2 separate regions of the Homo sapiens genome follow, and region 2 is linked to region 1. The links are contacts of gene promoters, found by promoter capture Hi-C in blood cells and fetal thymus (Javierre and others, 2016). All regions are on one chromosome and are shown on one strand. Each heading gives the region's core, a stretch centred on a gene start or on the middle of the fragment in contact. The rest is flanking DNA. Distances are from core to core; before and after follow the strand shown.

Region 1 (6,331 bases), core at 1,278-3,777:
CCCCTCCCAGTGAATATAATCTCACATTTGCCCCTCCCCAGATCACCCTCCACCTTCTCCTGAACCCCCAGCCTCAACTGCCTTCCTGGGTCTTCTCTTCATGGCAGCCCTAACAGACAGCACACAGACACCAAGGGTATGTCCGGTCTCCTAGCCCACACCTCTCCTCAGGACCCTCGACTCCAGGACCTGAGCCCCCAAAGCCACAGACCTAGCCCTGACTAGCCCCTAAAGCTGCAGGCCCAGGCGTCCAGACCCCCAGCCCCTCCTCCCTCAGACCCAGGAGTCCAGGCCCCCATTCCATCCTCCCTCAGACCCAGGAGTCCAGACCCCAGCCCCTCCTCCCTCAGACCCAGGAATCCAGCCCCCCCAGCCCCTTCCTCCCTCAGACCCAGCACTCCAGGCCCCCAGCCCCTCCTCCCTCAGACCCAGCACTCCAGGCCCCCAGCCCCTCCTCCCTCAGACCCAGCACTCCAGACCCCCAGCCCCTCCTCCCTTAGACTCAGCACTCCAGACCCCCAGTTCCTCCTCCCTCAGACCCAGCACTCCAGGCCCAGCCCCTCCTCCCTCAGACCCAGTCCAGGTCTGACCCCTTCTTCTCCTGTAACTCAGGAATTCAGGTCAGCAACACCTTCACACTCTTACCACTCAGGATCTGGGACTTTGACCCTCTCCTTTTCCCTAGGGTCTCAGCTCCCAGTTACGGCCCAGTCGGTCCCCACTCCTGCCAGCTCTGGCCCTGAGCTTCATAGAGACTCTGGGCGTTCAGCTCCCATGTCACCTCCACCCACCATCCATCCGGCAGGAAGGAGGCCGCGGCCGGTGGCCAGCGTTCAGCAACAGCAGAGGATGAACGCCCTTTCCACAGCCGCTCCAGGAGACGCGCCTGCTGCAGCCCACCTTCCCACCCTCCATCCTGTTTCCCACTCTGAGCCAGCATGCCAGAGAAGGGGAGAATGTCTTAGGCCCCACGGCCCCTGTCACCCCAACCTGCTGCCTGGAGAACTGGAGGCCAGAGGACAGTGGGGAGGGAAGAGGTTTCCCAGGATGGATGCACTGCACCCCGGTCTGCAGCTGTACTGCAGCAAGAACCTCAGGTCCCAGCCCGGCCCCACTCTGCAGGCCGCCTCCATCCCCTCCCTGGCCCTGGAGCCCCTCCAGCCTCTGCCCCTATGGGGACTGGAGCACTGGGGCCCCAAACTCCCTGTCCCAACACTCAAGGTTCCGACCGCCCTCCTCCCTCAGACTCAGGAGTCCAGGCCCCCAGCCCCTCCTCCTTCAGACCCAGGAGTTCAGCACCCCTGCCCCTCCTCCCTCAGACCCAGGAGTCCAGACCCCAGACCCTCTTCCTTCATACTCAGGAGTCCAGGCCCCCAGGCCCTCCTCCCTCAGACCTGAAAGTCCAGGACCGCAGTCCCTCCTCCCTCAAACCCAAAAGTCCAGGACCCCAGTCCCCTCCTCCCTCAGACCCAGAAGTCCAGACCCCCAGCCCCTCCTCCCTCAGACCCTGGAGTCCAGGCCCCCAAGCCCTTCTCCTTCAGACCCAGGAGTGCAGGCCACCAGCCTCTCCTCCCTCAGACTCCGGAGTCCAAGCACAGCCCCTCCTCCCTGAAACCCAGGAGTCCAGACCCCCAGGCCCTCCTCCCTGAAACCCAGGAGTCCAGGCCCCCAGGCCCTCCTCCCTCAGACCTAGGAGTCCAGTGCCCAGCCCCTCCTCCCTCAGACCCAGGAGTCCAGGCCCCCAGCCCCTCTCCTCCAGGACCTGAGTCTGCGCCCCCCACCCCCTCCATCCAGGGACCCAGGAGTCTGAATCCCAAGTCCCTTCTCTATGAGGGGCCCAGGGGTCTGGGCAGCCAGCCCCTGCCATTTGAATACCCTGAGTCCCGCCTCTGCCGCCACCTCCACCCTGCCCCCCGCCCCAGGTGTCCCCTTCTGCTAGGCTCACCTGTCTGTCCTTTGCCCAGCGTCTTCTCCAGCCGATAGGGGCCCACATATTGGGCGTGCTGGGGTGGGTGGGGGTGGGGGTGGGGGAGGTGGTAGGCGGGAGAGCCCCCACCTCCCTCCTTGGCCCCGGACGACATGGTGCCCTTGGTCCCGGCCCGACCGGTCCCCCGGCCGCCCCCCCTGCGGCCGTCGCCCCGTCTCTCCGGTGGGGGCCGGCGACCGCTCCGTCCCGGCCCCCCCGGCTGCCCCCCACCTCTCCGGGGGTCCCCAGGGGGCTGGGCTGGCCCCCCCCAGTCGGCGGGCCGCGGAGCTGGGGGAGGGGGGGCTGGCCCGGGGGGGTCAGGCCCCGGGAGTCAGCATGGCCCAGGGGGGCTGCGGGGCCCCCCCTCCCCAGCCCGTTTCTGGCCGGCCCCCCGCTTCCTGCGCCTCCCCCCGCCGGGGGGGTCTGAGGTGCGGGCCGGCGGATGCTGCAGGCCGAGGTCCCCCCCGCCCCCCCACGCGCCCTCTCTCCTCCGCCTCCTCCTCCTCTCCGCCTCCCCCCGCCACCTCGTCCTTTCTCTCCGGCACGCTGACATCACCATCCGGGGACTCCGGGCCCTTCCCCAAAGTTAACCCTTTCGGAGGGGGGAGGGGGAGCGAGGGGGGGCAGGGGGCGGGCCTCCAGCTGGAGGGATGGAGAGGAGGTGGGAGGATGCAGGAGAGAGGATGGAGGGAAGGATGGAGAGAGAGAGAGAGGACCCAACAGATGGGGCAGAGATGGAGATACACAAAGAGAGATGCTGGCTGACACAGAGACGGGAGACAGGCAGAGACGCCAGAGGGATGGAGACCACCAGAGACAGGCTGAGGCAGAGAGGGAGGAAGGGCAGAGATGGACAGGGACAGAAGAGAAGGAAGGAATGGCAAGCCGGGAAAACAGACAGGGAGAGGGAGAGAAAGCTGCTGGAAGCCGACAGAGGGATGGAGAGAGTCAGAGATTCAGAGAGACAGAGAGAGGAAGACCAACCAGAGAGGTGGGGGAGAGGGGGCGCAGATGGAGCTGTAGAGAGGGCCGGGGGTACACACAGGTGGAGGGACACGTGCTGGGGAGAGGTGGGGACATATGGAGGGAGACAGAGACAGAGAGGGGAAAGAATTCTTGGAGTTGCTGACCCAAAATTCATGTCTGTTTCCCCAGCCCCCTAAGGCCACCCATTCAGGGTAAGGGTAAGTCTGTGTCCCCACCAATGTCAAGGCCCCATATCTACCCACAGCCCAGAGTGATTTTGGATTCTCTTTACAGAGAAGCTTCCAGAACCCCCTCAGTTTCCCTGTGTTATGTTTTTAGACCCCCATATATTCTCTGTGCTCGTCATAGGGTCCTTTATATCTTCATGTGGACCCCAGTACAGCCCATACATCCCCACTGTAGCAGGTCCACAAGCATGTGCTCTGCCTGTGAGTAACCCGCCTGCCCCCATTAGCTTTCCGCATAAACCATAGATCCCTCTATGTCATGTACCCGCAAGTGTTAGACACCCATTTAATTCTCAAGTCCCCTGTAAAGCACACCCAGGGCTGGGCAAGGTGGCTCATGCCTGTAATCCCAATACTTTGGGAGACAGAGGTGGGAAGATCAGCCTGGGCAACACAGTGAGACCCCATCCCTACAAAAATTTTTTTAAAAATTAGCCGGGCATGGTGGCATGTGCCTGTAGTCCCAGCTACTTGGGAGGCTGAGGCTTGAGTCAGTGAGTTCTAGGCTGCAGTGAGCTACGTTTGCACCACTGCACTCCAGCCTGAGCAACAGAGTGAGGCCCTGTCTCTAACAAAAATAAAATAAAATAAAGTGCACACAGGAGCCTATTGGCTCCTGTGAGATTTCCCAGTCCCCCATTCAACACCTTGAGTCCACACATCTTTAATGAGTGCCAAATCTCAGCCAGGCACTGTTCCTGTTGGTAAGAACGTGGCAGTGACCTAAATCAGCAAAAAGGCCTGTCCTGTGGAGCTTCCATGCTGGTGGATGAAACAGATGATCAGCAAGGTCAATAGGCAAAATGTATGGTGTGTTAGATAATCATGTCCGTGCTGAGGAGGTGACTACAGCAGGGAAGGGGGTTAAGAGGGGCCTGTTGAGCAGGGTACAATTTTAGGCGTCCGGCTTTTTTTGTATTTTTAGTAGAGATGGAGTTTCACCCTGTTAGCCAGGCTGGTTCTGTAGCCTTTTTTTTTTTTTTTTTTTTTTTTTTTTTTTTTTTTTGAGACGGAATCTTGCTCTGTCTCCCAGGCTGGAGTGCAGTGGCACAATCTCAGCTCACTACAACCTCCACATCCTGGGTTCAAGCGATTCTCCTGCCTCAGCCTCCCGAGTAGCTGGGATTATAGGCACCCGCCACCATGCCTGGCTAATTTTTGTATTTTTAGTAGAGATGGGGTTTCACCATGTTGGTCAGGCTGGTCTCAAACTCCTGACCTTGTGATTTGCCCACCTCAGCTTCCCAAAGTGCTGGGATTACAGGCGTGAGCTACCACACCTGGCCTGGTTCTGTAACTATTGAGTCCCTTTTTGCTCTCAAATGTCTTGCTATAGATGAAAAATTATATGATCACCCTCTTTTTTTTGTTTTGTTTTGTTTTTTGAGACAGGGTCTTCCCCCTGTTGCCTAGGCTGGGGTGCAGTAGGGCAGTCATAGTTCCCTGCAGCCTCGACCTCCTGGGCTCAAGTGATCCTCCTGCCTCAGCCTCCTGCCTAGCTGTGATATAAGCAGATGCCATCACACATGGCTAATTCTTGTATTTTTTTGTAGGGCTGGGGACACACTATGTTGCCCAGGCTGGTCTCGAGCTCTTGGGTTCAAGTGATCCTCCCACCTTGGCCTCCCAAAGTACTGAGATTATAGACCTGAGCCACTGCCCCCGGCCATGTATTATAAACTGATAGACTTGTACATAGATGTCCGTGTCCTAATTCCCAGGATCTGTGCATAAGTTACCTTGCATGGCTGAAGGGACTTTGCCCATGTGACTGAGATAGGGAGATTATCCCAGTTATTTGGGTGAGCTCGATGGAATCACAAGAGTATTTGTGAGAAGGAGGCAGGAGGAGCAGTCAGTGATGGAGATGGGAAGGTGGAAGCAGAACTTGGGGTGATGGGGCCACCTGTCAAAGAAAGAGTGTGGCCTCTAGAAGCTGGAAAAGGCAAGAAAAACATTCTCCCCGAGAGCCTCCAGAAGTGATGCAATCCTGCTGACAGTTTGATTTCAGCCCCGTGAAACCCATTTTGGATTTCTGCCCTCCATAACTGCAAGATAATAAATGTGTGCTGTTTTAAGCCACCACATTCTTAGTAATTTGTTAACAGCAGCAATAGGAAACTAATATAATAGCACATCCACAGGCCCAGATGCATCTCACAGCACAGTGCTAGAAACACCACACACACACACACACACACACACACACACACATACACACACAACCTATCTGTTTGGTCTTCCTGTTTCTGCCCAAAATATCCCCCTGCACAACCACGCCCAGCAGGTGATTGATACGTTTGTGACTGTGTGCCCGTTTTGCGTTGAGCACAACCTTTTCCTGGAGGAAAACGCCTCCTATCCAGGATCAACACGGGAGTTTCTTTAAGCCCAGCCCAGGGCCAACACCTCTGCAGATCGGCCCGCACCAGCACGTGCCCAGGCCTAAACCCCACTTCTGGAGCACAGAGGCCTCGGGCCTCCCCACCAAGCTGGCTCCTCTGGCGCTCTGAATCTTGCTGGGCTCTGGGGCACTTTGCTTTCCGGCTCTAGGCCTCAAGAATCCTCTCCTCTCCACCTGGCAGGACATGGGGAAGAGTCCATGAGGGAGAGGCTGGGTGATGAGAGGGATCCACGCCGCAGCTCCACTTGACAGATGGAGAAACTGAGGCCGAGAGAGGGGTTGCGGGGGGCATAAGGCTCACAGGCCAGCCATTACGGTTGCGACCCCAGGGCTCCTGTAGATGGGGTTGGTGGCCCCGGTGGAGGCGAAAGTCAGATTAGTTGGGGCGAGGTCCCAAACCTTCTAAGGATGACTGACAGCAATGAGTGGGAGGGGCCTGTAAAGGGGCCGGGGCCCAACTGGGAGAGTCTGAAAGGCCTAGAGCAGGGGCGGGAATCGTAGGGTGGGCGGGGTCAGACCTGGGGGCGGGGCACACGTTAGAAGAGGGGTGGAGCTTGCAAAAGTATCGGGGGCGGGACTCGCTGAGGTGCGAAAACTGGGCCAGGGGCAGGGCTTTGACCAGCTACTTGAGCGTGAAGGGGCGGCGCCCGCACGAAGGGGCGTCCCAGCTTGGAGGCGGGGCCCGGATGGGAGGGGCGGGGCCGAGTGCAGTATCCCGCCAGGTGAGAAGGGGATAAGAGTCGGGCA
Region 2 (3,250 bases), core at 1-2,500, 1.1 Mb after region 1:
CCCCTGCCACACACACACAACCTCAGTTATTAAACACGTGTAAGTCTTCTGACGGCCGCTCCCTGAGCCAATCCGGATGTAGCTGACACCTCTGCAGAGCTGGTAGACTATGACAAAGAGAAGCCCTCCTGCCTCGTTCCACTCCACTGTAAACGTATGTGTGTCATAGGTCATGAGGAGTCCACATAAACCACTTAGAATCCTTATCAGCACATTGCCTAGTGGCTGGGCTCACGCTGGAGTGTGGTTATGGTTAACCATTAGTGAAACCCTCCCATATTGCATTCTGTGCAGTGATGGGCTTGTAAAAACAGACATCTGTTTCCACTGTGCTTTCTAAAGATTCCCCGGTTTTTTTTTTTTTTTTTTGAGATGGAGTCTCACTCTGTCACCTAGGCTGGAGTGCTGTGGCGCGATCTCGGCTCACTGCAACCTCCACCTCCCGGGTTCAAGTGATTCTCCTGCCTCAGCCTCCCGAGTAGCTGGGATTACAGGCGTCCACCACCACACCTGGCTGATTTTTTGTGTCTTTAGTAGAGACGGGGTTTCACCATGTTGGCCAGGCTGGTCTCGAACTCCTGACCTCATAATCCACCCACCTCCGCCTCCCAAAGTGCTGGGATTACAGGTGCAAACCACCGTGCCGGGCCGGATTTTCCATTTTCTTAAACATAGCATCCAATAAATCTTCACGGTGCACAAGTCCCCTGAATGACAAGGTCCCAGCTTCCTTTGGCTCACTCTCAGGTCTGAGAACAGCCCACACTGTTTCTGGTGGAGGACACTCTGCGTGCCACACTCACTGTTCACGTCTTGGTCTCTCCATCCCCCAGAAGGACCCCTCACTCCCATGACAGGTGTACGCTGCTCACCTGCTATGAGCATGTTTTCCTCCTTTCCTACAACTTGTCGAAACCGGAGCAGAATTACCTCCTATCTAAACATGGGTAATGTGTCATTAACCCAGGCTCTGTGAGTCCAGCAGGAATCCTATCAGCTTCACCCACGACTCCCCTCCTCCTGGCAGCATGCCTGGATGTGGTAACCACTGAATAAACATCGCCTGATCGCAAGGCTCATGAAAGAAAAGATGCATTACAGAGCTCAGGACATGGAAGGGGCTTGCCTCTAGAATTAGAACAGTGACTGGGCTGTGTCCTAAGGCCCTGCCCTCTCTGGCCTCAGCCTCATGTGCTAGAACAAGGGTCACCCCTGGATGAGAGTTGGGTGAGGTGGAAGCAGGCAGAGTATGGGGAAGTCAAATTTTGACTCAAATGTGGTCTGAAAGGCCCCCAGAGCCTGCTGTCCCCTCAGCCCCATCCTTCAGGGGGAGCAGAGCGAGGCCCTGGGGAAGGGGCTGTTCCCCTCCTGCAAGGCCACTGGTGAGAACACATGACCTGTAACACAGAGCCCGGGGCTCCTTATACCAGCACACCCATCTGCCCTCCAGGCTCTGTGGCTCAATGGTCTAATTCATCTGCACTGCTGGGGACCGTGACAGGCAGGGCCACAACCCCCACCCTCATTGCCCATCTCCCTGCTGTGTGTCCAGGGAAGCCTTAGGTGGACACGGGGTGGTCAGTGACCCCGACCTCTTGGGCCAGAAGCACAAGGCAGAAGGCATGGAGTTGAGACCGGTGAGAGCTCTCCCTGCAGGCCCCAGCGGGCCCCAGAGAGTACGCATCCCCTAAATACCAGTCGCCTCATCTCAGGGGCGTCCAGGCAGCCCTCAGCCCTCCCTCTCAGCACAGCCGGGATCGCCGGTGCTCTCTGGAGACAGCCTGACCCCTCAGCATCACTCAGAGGCCGGTTTTGACAGCTCTGCATTGACCAGGACAAGGGGCTCCCAGCCCGCCAGCGCCTAGATGGGCAGCACCTCCTGGACGTCCCCCTGGGCCATGCGAGCCACCCCCCTGGGGGCCAGCACAGATGCTGCGGTGGACACAATGCCTCCTGCCCAAGGTCGGTCCCCCGTCGCCCCCACCCAACATCCTGGTTGCAAGTGAGGGGCCCCTACCCAGACCCCATCCCGTTCTCTGCTCTGGACCCTGGGCTCAGGGTCGAGAGAGAGAATGATACAGGGATGTGGTCCAAGGAGATCACCAAGAAAGGGAGAGCAAGAGGCCCGGAGATTAAACAGACCCACGCAGGCCAGGCACTGTGGCTCACACCTGTCATCCTAGCGCTTTGGGAGGCGAGTGGATTGCTTGAGGCCAAGGGTTTTAGATCAGCCGGGGCAACACATTGAGACTCCATCTCTACAAATTCTTGAGATGGAGTCTCCCTCTGTTGCCCCGCTCGCTGCCTCTGTAGACAGAGCCCTGAAGACCCTTTTCCTTTCCAAGCCCGTAGGCTTCTCCCCAGAACCGCATACCTCAACTCCCACTCTCCCCTCCCTCCAGGCTGCCGTGGAGCTCCGCAATTGTGAGCTACACCCAGGTGAGCCACCACCTCTCAGACCAGAGACAACTGCAGTCTCTTCCTCCCAGGGGAGCTCCCAGGAGCCCAGTGAGTACGCTGCCCCGGCCATCCACTAGCCCAGACCCCACGCTCCAAGGAAGGAGACCACAGTGAGCCCAGATGGTGCAGCAGCTGGCCCCATGGACACAAGACCACCGTCATTTCCCAAGTAGCAACGCTGAGGGAAGGAAGGGCCAACCACCTAGCTTGAGTAAGCCGCAATGGACTTCTCCACGTGGTTTACAGTAACTTAGCTGTGTTCCAGAACTGTCCCTGCCCTGACCTCAAACCCTGAAGGCCTCCAGATAAGGACCCAATCAACTACAGCCTGCAGCCTGAGGGGGTTGCACAATTTCAGGTTTCTCACTTCCTCAGAAACCAAACCCCTTCCCAACACAGATGATCAACAAGGCTGAGAAAAGGGAAGCCTGCCAACCTCTTGACCGTGAGTCCACAGAAGCACTGAACGCGGAGAGGAGGAACAGACTTCCCTCAACGCCCCTTCTCCTACGCTAACCCACTTCCCCTACATGTGAAGACAAAACTGGGAACTTGCCCAACATCAACTGCATCACAAGCTTTGAAACTAGCAAGCAAATTCTGTGAAGTGTTCCCCAACAATCACCAACAGTTCACCTTCCCCAGCAACCCGTCAGCCTCTGGTCAGCTCCCGTCCCACCTGTCTCTTGCCTGGCGGGGTCAGGGTCCCAGGGCCAGCAGGCAGGGAAGGCCCCCACCTCCACTCGGCGCCTGCCCTGCCTAGCAATGACCGGCTCCCTCCCACCCCTAT

Evidence for each region. The method cuts DNA at HindIII sites, captures the fragments that hold promoters and counts their contacts. A CHiCAGO score of 5 or more calls a contact.
Region 2: a contact is called between a fragment that was not itself captured here and the fragment with the promoter of BRSK1 in region 1, in 1 of 17 cell types (total CD8 T cells). The highest score is 5.1, in total CD8 T cells.

The regions. Positions count from the first base shown.
Region 1 is chr19:55,280,193-55,286,523 of GRCh38, reverse strand. It overlaps BRSK1 (BR serine/threonine kinase 1), which reads right to left and starts at 2,527. Exons shown (of 19, transcript NM_032430.2): 1 at 1,946-2,527. The coding sequence starts at 2,081. It also overlaps a transcript of HSPBP1 not described here. RefSeq lists a silencer at 6,052-6,281. The HindIII fragment of the contact is 8,428 bases long and covers 1-3,233 here.
Region 2 is chr19:54,207,891-54,211,140 of GRCh38, reverse strand. No RefSeq gene overlaps it. Among named protein-coding and RNA genes, the nearest start is that of RPS9, 8.7 kb to the right of the region's middle. RefSeq lists silencers at 2,384-2,559, 3,006-3,189 and a cis regulatory region at 2,360-2,620. The HindIII fragment of the contact is 3,581 bases long and covers 1-3,040 here.